2 separate regions of the Homo sapiens genome follow, and region 1 is linked to region 2. The links are contacts of gene promoters, found by promoter capture Hi-C in human tissues and cell types (Jung and others, 2019). All regions are on one chromosome and are shown on one strand. Each heading gives the region's core, a stretch centred on a gene start or on the middle of the fragment in contact. The rest is flanking DNA. Distances are from core to core; before and after follow the strand shown. Region 1 has its middle 30 kb from the start of RGS5-AS1. Region 2 holds the start of RGS4 (regulator of G protein signaling 4).

The links. Contacts are between HindIII fragments. The study calls those that stand out against the background at their distance.
Region 1: a fragment that was not itself captured here is called in contact with the fragment with the promoter of RGS4 in region 2 in 1 of the 25 tissues and cell types used here (heart right ventricle).

Annotation. Positions count from the first base shown.
Region 1 is chr1:163,128,750-163,135,349 of GRCh38, reverse strand. No RefSeq gene overlaps it. Among named protein-coding and RNA genes, the nearest start is that of RGS5-AS1, 30 kb to the left of the region's middle. RefSeq lists an enhancer at 2,944-3,518. The HindIII fragment of the contact is 4,926 bases long and covers 1-4,497 here.
Region 2 is chr1:163,067,234-163,073,170 of GRCh38, reverse strand. It overlaps RGS4 (regulator of G protein signaling 4), which reads right to left and starts at 3,810. Exons shown (of 5, transcript NM_005613.6): 1 at 3,643-3,810; 2 at 672-776; 3 at 305-366. The coding sequence starts at 3,686. It overlaps LOC124904446 (a long non-coding RNA gene), which reads left to right. Exons shown (of 2, transcript XR_007066703.1): 2 at 1-173. The HindIII fragment of the contact is 8,323 bases long and covers 1,108-5,937 here.

The sequences.
Region 1 (6,600 bases), core at 785-3,284, 64 kb before region 2:
GGTTTTCTAACCTGTAAAATAAGGCTATTTTCTCAAATCCTCATCCAGGCCAATTTGCTTCCTTTTTTATCTTCCTGGTGTAAATCATTAGGACATGATCAGAGAAAGTAAGCAATAGGTATCACCAGGAGAGACAGCAGTAATATGTCCTTATTTCTGTCCCACTACCTCCTTCCTTCTGCCATTTCCTAAGTGTGAGCTAGAAAAAGACATAGAACCATGCCTTATTCCTGGTGTTCTTGTGCTCTGAAAGCCTAGAACATAACTTAGCCAGTTGACACAGAATTATGGTCAGTTAGCTGTTCTACTGGACATCTACTGCAGATGCTTTGGCCTCCTCAGTACCACAGTCTTCTCGATGACCTAATAATAACTACTCTTTGTGTAACTTTTCCCTATGGTATTTCACTTGATCATCTTCGCAACTCTGTGACTTGGTTAAAGTAGATAGGATTCAAGTGCTCATTTTACACATAAGAAGTCTGAAACTCAGAAAATTTAAGGGACTTGGCAAAGTCACATGGATAGTACTGGCAGAGCTGAGCCTAGAGCATGGGTCTCCACCTCCAGCTCTGGAGTTCCTTCCTTATACCAGATTCTGCAGCGTGCTGCTAACAAACTCAGCATTATAGAACCTTTTCAGGGCCAGTGATAGAGACAGAAAAAAATCTTGGGTGACATCTGTGTGCTCTGTATTGGAGATCTGTGGTATAAATGTGTGTGTATGTATACTATACATATGGTATCCCATTGTGGTTTTGATTTGCATTTCTCTAATACGTATATATTAGATAATATATATTTTATATATGAAATATATATATATACACACACACATATATATGTATATATATATAAAATCTTTTAGAGTTATTCTTGCTGGGCACAGTTTCTCATTCCTGTAATCCCAGCATTTTGGGAGGCTGAGGTGGGAGGAATGCTTGAGGCCAGGAGTTTGAAACCAGCCTGGGAAACATAGCAAGACCCTATCTCTATAAAAAATAAAAATTAGCTGGGTGTGGTGGTGGGTGCCTGTAGTCCTAGCTGTTCAGGAGGCTGAGGCAGGAGGACTGCTTGAGCCCAGATGTTCAAGGCTGTGGTAACCTATGATTGTACCACTGCATTCCAGTGTGGGTGACAGAGCAAAGCCCCAGCTCTAAAAATAATAATAATAGTAATAATAATAATAAATCCTTCTCATTAGAGATTAACACTAACAGGTTCAAAGTTTATCTAAGTGGTTAAGAAAAAAGAGAAAGATAGAGTAGCACATATGTGAAGGACTGTTCTTTAGTCTGCCATTCAGGCTTGCATACAAAGACTTTGCCTAGCTTTCTTTGTTTAAAAAAGGTGTTTGATCTCAGATTACAGCCAGCTGGACCATCTGCCACTCTTGTTTCCTCAAAGTCTGGAGCTCTTTACTAACATTTGAGGTTATGCTTTAATGTCCACTTATGGAAGCCTAATATTGTCTCATTTTGTTCATGGTTGTCTCACTTTAGTATTTAATGACTTCATACATCTGGATGTTTCCTTTACATTTCCAAATCATTTCTACATTTGTAATTTCATTAGCTTTCAAAGTCCAGTTTCTCTTCCTTCAGAGTCTTTGTAGCTAATCTGTCTCTGATGTTCCACAATTTTATTTTTTTGATATGTTTATATCATTTATTCTTGGGCTTAATCTTTGCTATCTTTTTCTGAACTTCCTCTTTTTACTACTTGAGTCCTTTCTACTACTTCTTTCTAATTTCTATGGTAGAAATTCCTCTTACTTCAAATTTAATTTGCTTATATTCTTGTTGGATACTATGCCAGATATCTTGCACATGTGATTTTATGAGACAAGAATTTTTACTCCATTTTTCTTATGAGAAACTGTATTATTCCATTTTTGCATTACTATAAATTAATACCTGATACTGAGTAATTTATAAAGAAAAGAGCTTTAATTGGCTCATGGTTCTGCAGGCTGTACAAGCATGGCACCAACATCTGCTCAGTTTCTGGTGAGAGCCTCAGGAAGCTTCCAATCATGGCTGAAGATGAAGTATGAGCAGGCACATAACATGGCAAGATCAGAAGCAAGAGGGAGAGAAGGGAGGAAGTGCTAGGCTCTTTAAACAACCAGCTCTCGTGTGAACTAATGAAATAAGAACTCACTCATTACCATGAGGAGGGCAGCACACCATTCATGAGGTATTCCCCTGACCCAAACACCACTCACCAGACCTCACCTTCCACACTAGGGATTACATTTCAACATGAGGTTTGGAGAAGACAAACATCCAAACCATATCATCCTGCCCTTGGCCCTCCAAATCTCACATCCTCCTCCCATTGCAAAATACAGTAATATCTTCCCAAGAGTCCCCTAAAGTCTTAATTCATGCCAACATCAATTCCAAAGTCTCATTTGAAACTCAAGGCAAGCTCCTTCCGCCTATGAACCTGTAAAATCAAAACCAAGTTATTTACTTCCAAGATGCAATGGTGGTACAGGCATTGGATATACATTCTCATTCCAAAAGACAGAAATTCATAAAAGAAGGTGCAATAGGCCCCACACAAATCTGGAACTCTGCAGGGTAGTCATTAAATCTTTAAGCTCCAAAATCATCTCCTTTGACTCAATGTCCACATCCAGGGCACATTGGTGCAAGAGGTGAGCACCCAAAACCTTGGGTAGCTCTGCTCCTTTAGTTTTGCAGGGTGCAGGCCCCATGGCTGCTCTCTCAGGTTGGAATTGAATGCCTAAGGCTTTTGTAGGTTCCAAATGCAAGCCGCCAATGGCTCTACCATTTGGAGGGTGGTTGCCCCCTTCCCACAGCTCAAATAGGGAGTGTTCTAGTGGGGGACTCTATTTAGGGGCTACCCCACAGATCCTCTTGGTGCTGTCCTAGTAGAGTCTCTCCATGGGGACTCTGCTTCTGTGGCAGGGTTTCTGATACATACTCTGAAATTTAGATGGAAGCTGCCAAGCCTCCTTCACTGTTGCATTCTGCAAGCCATCAGATGTAACACCATGTGAAAGATGCCGAGGCTTATGGTGGCTTTCACTCTCCAAAGCTGCAGCCCAAGCTGTATCTAGGCCCCTTTGACCCACAGCGGGAGCTAGAGCAGCCAGGATGAGGGAACAGTGTCCTGCAGCTGAGCAGTGAAGTGGCCCCCTAGGCCTGGCTGCCAAAACCATTCTTTTCTCCAAGGCTTCTAGGCCTGTGATGGGAGGGGCTTTCCTGAAGACTTCTAATTGGCTTCAAGGCCTTTTTCCCATTGTCTTGGATATTAGAAATGGCTCTCTTTTAGTCATGCTAATCTCTCTAGCAAGTGAGTGCTCTGAATCCTACTTGTATTTTTCTCCTGAAAATGCTTTTTCTTTCTCTTCCATGTGATCAGGCTTCAAATTTTCCAAAGTTTTATGGTCTGCTTCCCCTTTAAATATAAATCTTTAAGTAACTTCTTCACTCCCATATATGATTATAGGCTGTTAGAAGCGGTCAGGTCACTTCTTGAATGATTTACTACTTATAAATTTCTTTTGCCAGATAAGCTGGGTCATCAATCTTAAGTTTAAACTTCCACAAATCCCTAAGATGTGGACAGAATTCAGTTAAGCTCTTTGCTAGGGCATAACAAGGGAGACCTTTGCTCTGGTTCCCAATAACTTCTTCATTTCTATCTGAGACCTCCTCAGCCTGACCTTCACTGTCCATACTTCTATCAGCATTTGGGTCACAATCATTGAAAAAGTCTCTAAGAAATCCCAAACTTTCCCTGGTTTTCCCATCTTCTTCTGAGCCCTCCAAACTCTTCCAATTTCTGCCTGTTACCCAGTTCCACAGCTGCTTCCACATATTTAGGTATCTTTATAGCAATGCCCCACTTCTCAGTACCAGTTTTCTGTATTAGTCTGCTTTTTGCATTACTGTAAATACCTGAGATTGAGTAATTTATAAAGAAAAGAGGTTTAATTGGCTCACAGTTCTGCAGGCTACACAAGCATGGCACCAACATCTGCTCAGCTTCTGGTGAGAGCCTCAGGAAGCTTTCAATCATGGCAGAAGATGAAGCAGAAGCAGGCACATAACATGGCAAAATCAGGAGAAAGAGAGAGAGAAGGGAGGAGATGCCAGGCTCTTTAAACAACCTGCTCTCACGTGAACTAATAGAATGAGAACTCACTCACTACCATAAGGAGGGCAACATGCCATTCATGAGATGTCTTCCCCCTGACCGAAACACCTCCTACCAGGTCCTATCCCCAATATCAAGGGTTAAATTTCAACATGAGAGTTGGAGGAGACAAACATCAAGACCCATATCAGGAACTAAACCTCAGAGAGAGTCAGTGATAATTCCATGTTCATGCAGCTAGAAAGGAGCCAAGTTGGATCCTTGGGAGCTATCAACACTGAGTTTATTGTTTTCCATTCTTTCCTCTCTTAATTTTATTACGCCTTTTTTTTTGATCGTCAAACAAAGTTATTTTACACTGAAGAAGCCCTGTATTTTCTCTTTTACTTATTTTAGAAAACGTGTAATTTTTATGTGCAGAGTGCCTGTTCTTTTTTCCCTTCCTATCCACTTTTTGTTGATATTCCTCATTTATTCACTATTCCACTGAATCCTATCCAGCTCCAATTTCACTCTTATCAACCACAGACTATATCCCACAGGAATCAAAGGGATTCACACATTCTTAGGCACAAGTAAGTAATAGGCTATGCTAATAGCAACTGGAGGTTACAGAGATTTTCCAAGACAGTTGCCATTTTAAATATCTTACTCTGTTTTTTCCAGAAATGCACTTGTCAGACTATGTGTTCTGATTTTGAGTTTAGAAAATATATTTCTTCCAGCCCAGCTGTAACTCAACCCAGACAGGCCAAGTTCATATAACCCTAGTAATGTTAACAAGTCAGCAGCTGTAGAAACATGCATTCCTAAGCTTCAAGAGACAAGCAGCTGAATTTTCTAGATCCTGAGGCATCTATGGAATAAGTCACATTATGCCTAAAACATTTTATTTTAGAAAGTTGCAGTCTAGTAGGATAAACAAAAAGATTTTGATCTGATCATTATGGATATTACTGCTTAGGAAACCTTTGCCAACACTCAGCAAAGCCAGTGGCTTCATGCTTTTCTGCACTTTAACACTTTGTTCTGAACTCAAGTGTAGCATTCATCACAGTTGTTTAATATACATGCCTTTATTGAATGCCAACCATGTGCCAAGTCCTATGCAAGTTAGGAATACAGATATGAAGTAAATCCAATCCCTGATTTCCAAGGAGCTTGGCATTTATTTGGAAAGATATATGTATAAACAGTTCCAACATAATGTGATAAGTGACATGCTAGAGCTCATGACTGTGGAATCCTCAAGGAGGGGGCCCCAAATGGCCCTCCCTGTATAGTGCAGCACAGTAGATGAATTTCATGGTATATCCATACTACATTGTCACTACCATTTACCTCCTACTTGAATGAGTTAAACAGGTGCTGCACTGCAAACAATCACTCTTACTCTCCTCACTCCTCATGCAATGCATTCTCCTTACTTGCATGAACTTTCTCCATCTTCTCCCAGGTGAGCCATTCTTTAAAGGCTCAACTGAAGGGTCACTGATTAATGGAGATATTCTGACAATACCCTTCCAAATTAAGATTGACTCCTTTTGCCTAGTACATTATCTCTAAAATAATGACATATATTTTTACCATTTCAATGGTTGCCTTTTAATTTTGTTGATTGCTTCCTTTGCTGTGCAGAAACTTTTTAGTTTGATGTGGTCCCATTTGTTTATTTTTGCTTTTTGTTGCCTGTGCTTTTGGTGTCATGTCCAAGAAGTCACTGTCCAGACCAACGTCCAGGAGCTTTGTTCTTAGTTTTCTTTTAGGAGTGTTACAAGTTAGTGTCTTATATTTAAGTCTTTAATTCATTTCAAGTAAAGTTTTGTTTATGGTATAAGGTCAAGGGCCAATTTTATTCTATTACGTATGGATATCCAGTTTTTCTGACATCATTTATTGAAAATACTACCCTTTCTTTATTGTCTATCCTTGTTGCCTCCTTGCAGGTCACTGTGCAGGTTCTTGGGAAGTAGGATTGTGGCTAAAAGGAGCTTGAACCAAGTCACAGGGCTTCCTCAGAGTCCACAGCTGGAACAGAGGTCTACAGGTCAGCCTCTGGGGGTACGAATGGGTGTGCCTTCTGTCAAGTTCCTAGGAAGGTAGAAATGCCCCAAAACTGCAGCTGAGAGGGGCCAGAGCCTAGTCACAGGCTGCTTCAGGGTCTGTTGCTAAGACTGAGGTTGGCAGGCCTGCTATCCATGGTATAGGTGGGCATGACTTCCCCTGGGTACCTAGTCAGATGCTACTGGTGACAGGAGCAAAACCAAACAGAATTATAGCTGAGTCCACAGAGGGACAGGGCTATTTCTGGGTCTGTACCTGAGATCACAATCTGTTACTTGGGAGTAGATCTGCTTTCTCAAAATTACTGTCTTTGGTCTTGGGGTCCACCAGGGTTTTGCAACTTTCTACCTGATCTCAATGTTCCAGCATTGGCACTTTGTTCATGGCCTGCTAAATTATTGC
Region 2 (5,937 bases), core at 2,561-5,060:
GGGAAAGAGAAACTGAGATTGATTTTGCAAGAAGGTATTGATATTTATCATTTTTTTTCTCTCTTCCGTTTTTCCTTGTGATGAGAGAGATGGTTTTCCACATGGTTCCTGCATAAACTTTTCATTGTATATCACAAAGCTCTAGGGCATATTAAAATTTTAAACAGACTGAATTTAAGACCTAAAGAGTCTCCTGAGTCTGAACATCAGAAAGAAGCCAGGCCTTGCTGCAGTTTCTATTAGACCAGCATAATATAACTTGTCTTATCCAGAGTACCTCATCCCAGGTTGCTGTCAGACTTACATTCATGACTAATCAGGTTTTCCAGTGATTCAGCCCATTTCTTGACTTCCTCTTGGCTCACTCTAGAAAAAATAGAGAGAAACAGAATAATTGGAATGCCATGGTAAAAAAATTGGGGCAAGAAATCTAAGATCCTGAATGAAGGCAAAGATTTTATTTTCCATCGTTATGACAAAATATGTTATTGATGAGGGCAGTTTTTCACTAAATGTATAGAAATTTCAAATGTAGTTATGATCTCCATGAAAATGGAGGCTATCTTGATCCAAATCTGGCTTAACTAGGAGCACAAGTTCCTTCTCACAGAACATCCCCATCATCAGATAGTTAATACTAAGTACATCTTCACCAAGGCCTTTTCTCTTACCTCTGGCAAATAACCACTTTGTCCTTCTTGTTGTGGGAAGAATTGTGTTCACAGGAATCAGATTTTTGCAGCAGGAAACCTAGCCGATGTTTCATATCTTTTGCACTGCACAGAAGAGAAAAAAATGAATAAATAGTAATAACCAGCTTTCTTTAAAAGATACCTAATGGTAGAGCTTGAAGAGTCCATTACTAGTCTATGGCTCAGAGACAGTTTAGGGAACGGGAGTTGGAGTTGGCATGACCTCTGAGGAAAACAAGATTCCTCTTGGTTCCCTATGACTTGCTACAAAACCTTGAGGCAGTCATAACACCATTTCCTTCATCCACAACTGGAATTCTGACCCTTCAGTTTACCTCAGAAACCTGAGAAGCCTTTATATGCCCGTCATTTTGACCAACCGAATATCTTTGGTATCTTCAACAGAACCTGAATCACTGAACACATGAGTGATCTCTGAGTAATTTTTAGGAATCAGAAAGCAGTAGCGGCAAAAGATGCACATCCTTGCTGCACGCCACCTTCTGGCAGGTGATTGCTATTTCCATCTGTTCCCCTGCTGGCAGAGGGAACTGTAGAAGCACCTCGGGAAAGTAAAAGTCTATTCAGTTCCAGCCATGTATGTTGGGGGGGGGGGGGGGGGGCAAGCAGTTCCTGCTGTGAGGTATAGAGGGAGAATACACTGAGGTGCACAGTTCCAGCAGAGGGAAATGGAGCATGGGATGGCGAAAACAAATGCCCAAGCTGAAACCTCAGCTTCTTGGGGCTTCTTTCTAGACAATATCTGCTGCTGCTGCTTTCCTTCTTAATAGCTACTTTAAAGGACATACACACTCTAAAGGGCATTTGAGGCTTAACAGCTATTAGGAGAAGCAGGCTAGAGTCATCACTGAGCTTCCAGTTTATTGCCACCATTTAATAGGTAGCCAGGGCACATTAGAGCTCCTGACTAACTAGAAAAAGGGGGTCTTTTAATAAGCCTTAAGCTCAACTCTCTTACTTTTTATTAAATATCCTCTTGCTTGCATCTCTTTTTATTAAAAAAGTCAAGAAATAGTTTAAAAAGAGAAATACCATTTTAAAAGAAATGAATAACTAAATGTGTCTATTTGGAGTAGGGAAAATAAAGCCTCAAAGATATAAAGACATTTAGGATGGCCACTAATACATTTATGTATGTAGGTTTTCCCAGAAAGTTTGAATTCCATTATGTTCTCTGACTGTCCCTTAAATAGTATTTTCTCTTCCTCGCAAGATTACTTTCCCTCCTCTGCTTCCCTGACTGATGACTGTTCAGGGGATGCAACATCCTTTTTGATTATAACAAGATACAATCCTGAATGTTAGGGTGATTCCAAGGTGATAATGTAAATATATCATGAAGTCCAAATAGAAACGAATTCATATTTCTATGTGCTGGATCCACCTGAGATCCTAGAGTTATTAATCAATGCAGGGGGTAAGTGTGCTTAGCAAGTATTCTTATAATAAAACCATAAAAATAAAAAACAAAATGACTTCAGAAGTTACTGGAGTCAGGAATTCTAGATTTGGTCCTAACTCACCCACCACCTATGTGACCTTGAGAAGGCAATGGCTCCTCTGGAGCCTCAGGCACTGGTGGTAAAGATGTTGGACTAGATGATTTGCAATTTATTGAGGAGGAAAGGGAAGAGCAGTTCATCCTGCTGACATAGAGTTTACCTCCTTAGATTAGCTGCTTAACTCTTTGAGGACAGAGCTCTAGTATTATCTTTTATCTGTTTTGCAAAATATTTACCAGAGCATAACTTTCTCCTGACACTCTTGTATTTTTGTACGGTTCATTTCATATGCAAGTTAAGTGAAGCTTGAAGTAATTTGCTCCACTCCATTCAGAAAATTAAGCGTGAAGGTCAGAGGAACTTATTTCATAGATACTCTCTGCCAGACCCTCCTGCTTCATTTTAAAGAAGCCATCGATACTTCCATACTCCTGAATGACAGAATATTTGGAAAGTAAATGTTTTAATAGTACATAAAAAATTATGTTTTCTGAGATTATTTCCAAAATAAAATTTGTGGTAATTTCTATTTGCAGTGCGATAAGAAAGCAGGTAGTATACCTTTAGGTTGACTTTTTACCTTTGACTGCAAGATTAAGTAATGTAATATGCACTCATTTTGTGTTTAATTTTCAACTGGCTAATATATGATCTTTCTCTGAATGCATTTCTTTATACCTTTTTTGAACAAACCAAAAACAAATGAATAGCTGTATGTCTGTAAGGTCTTTTAAAAAAATCAAGGGAGTATATTAACAAAACAATGTCTTTAAGATGAGATCTTCTACAAAACTATTAACTGATTTGTAATGATCAATATTTCTCAACCAAACTCATATGAGACACTTCAAGAACTAGAGATGGGGCAGAGAGATAAGGAAGATCTGGCTTTAAAACTCATATCTCATTGTAACATTTGCTTATAAGAACATAGAGAGTGAAAGTTACTGCACCACCACACGGAAAGCATAGTGCCTTTCTGATGATGGAGCCAAACCTCATTCTGGGGTACCTTTCCTGAAACAAGTTGTAGCATACAATCAGAAAGCCCAGAGCCAGGCTTCTATGTACTCCAGGGATGCTCAAATAGCAGTAGTAATCACAGATGGAGATATTACAGATCACTGTACATAGCCTCAAACCTCATCTCGCTTCTTAATTAAAACTAGCTTTCTTAGACCTGGCTTAAAGAATAGAACAGTTCTCAAAACTGAGGTCACACAAAACAACACATAAGGGCTGAAATTTGGGGAGCACATGTCTTAAGTCACAATATCTAGCTAGTCTTGGAGGAAAGTTAGAAAGTCGTGCTCTCCTGACCACACTGTTTCTAATTGCACAGAACTAGGTTAGTAAGTACAACATGTAAATAACTGAGAAAGTCTAGCCAAAAGTTTAATATGGTTAATGGCTGAAAGCAATCTTACCTCCTCAAGCAAGAAGCCGGCAGACCTGCAAGCCCTTTGCACATCTTATTTAACAGCTTGGAATTCGCAAGCAGGAAAGAAATGCGGCAGGAGGAGCTGTGGCTTCGGCTTTGAGCGTACTTTGCCTCTTCTCCGGTAAAGATATTGTCAGAATCCTCTGAGCGTCTTCCTGCTAAGCCTGTAGGGGTCTCTTTTATAGCCCAGCTACGACCGTCCAGCCAATCAGACGACCGCTCTGCAGTACCAGCTCCTCTGTCTCCCTCTGCCTCTCCAGCCCCTGAAAGAGATGAGGAAGAAAAGACTGACGCATCAGCAATGTTAAGTGAACGAGCAGAGAAAATCCTTCTGAAAAGTAGGGATATGGGAAAAAATGTACTCAATGTCTCCACCAATGTCAGAGGTTTAGAATTTCTAGAAAAGGAAAAAAAGTGTACAATGCTGCAAAATATAGTTTTTATTCATATGCCTGTAAAAAAAAAATATCAAGGAAGTTGCTTCCTGGAAGGAAAAGTACCAGCAGGAATTCTGGAGCTTACTTAGGAGCTGACTCCCAATGCCTTTCCTCTTTTGGATTAGAAGCATCATATTATACATGGTCCAAGATCTGATCCTCACGATTTCCAAAAGGGAGCTGGCAGGATCATCGTCTCCACGCAGTGATTTGCGGAAGTTGCCTTGGTTGTTATGCAAACAAGAAGGTGGAGAGAAATAGCTGGATGACAGACAGTTATAAGCCCGGCAGCATACAGAAACTACCCTAGGAAAAATAGATTTGCTATATCTGTAATCAACCTGACTGAGGAATACTTTTCTAGAAATCTTGGTAACAACAGAATTCAGCCTAGCACTGACAGTTTCTCCTTCACATGCCTGCGTCCTGTAAAAAGTCTAAACCGGCAGCTCGAGGACCAAAGGAGGGAGTAGATGAGCAAATATACACAGCAATTCTTATATCAAATGGGTTTATGTCTTATGTAATTCTAAGTCTCCAAACTGATATTTCAAAAGATAAAGAAAGAGAGATGTAGAGAGAAAGAGAGAGAGCAGGCAGAAAAATATGTAGTTTGCTTTGCGTATCACCAGCCTTCAAACTGATTGTAAGAATATTAAGCCCTATAGGTGTTTCTGAACACCTAGACAATCAGTATCTTTTACATACAATATCATGAACTGAAATGCCTGCATGGACAGAATCATTCAGGTGTTTCACATCTTATAGCCATAAACCAAATACCTACACCAGAGTTACAGAGGAAAGCTATAAGTGGAAGAAGGGAATTAATTGCTAGATCTGACCAAAACAGCTTTCATTTAGAAAGCAGATAGGTTCCTGATCATAGGCTACAGTGAGCTATACTTTATATATAAGAAACAGAGGCATCAAATAGTTTAGGTGGAAGAGATGAAAAATAGTTGGGTTCCAGTGAGATGCAAAATACCAAAAATATAGAAAGAATGGCACAAAGCAATGCCCATATGTGGCCCTACCCAATACGTGCCCTTGAACATCCCACACTGCCCCCACTACCAACACGTTCCATGACTAGCAGAGCAAGGAGACAGCAGACAAATGTAAAGTGGTGGAGGGACCATAATCTACAGAAGATGCATTTAAATTATAGGAAAAAGTCTCTAGCCGCCCATAAGAGGGCATTTATTGGATTAGCTACTGGGCAACTTTTCCTTGAATTATAACATAGAACAAATGAATGTTGACAGCCATCCTTGATGGTGGTGTGGAAGGAACTGAAGTGCAATATGAAACTAGGAAGGCCCTCAGACCAAGGAAGATGGACCAGGGAAATGAATCAGTCAGAACTGACATTAAAGAGGTCAGACTAATTAAAAGGGAAAGAAGGTCACTCAAAGAAAGACCATGGCCTTCTTTGTTTACCTGGGCACCTAAAAGAGTGATCACTCAAATAGATTGATTTCAGGAACATAAGTGAGTACCCAAAAAGATTTACTGATGCCTGAAATTCCACAATAAAAGTTTTATGTCTTGCACTTAGAATAAGAGAAGCCTGATTTGTCATGAGTTAAATATAAATCACTGCAATAGATGGGACTTTAAAGACAAAATGGGACTTCAAAGGCAATCTAGCCTAACACTCTCATTTCACCAAAAAGGAAATAGAGACCCAGAAAGAGAAAGTGACTTGCTGAGGTTACAGCTTCTTACTAACAGAGCTGGGTCCAGATACAGGTGTCTCGATACTCAGTTATGTGGATTGTCCACCATGCTATCCCATCACTCAACAGTCTTATCAAATAAGGTAAACTGTGTAAATAGAG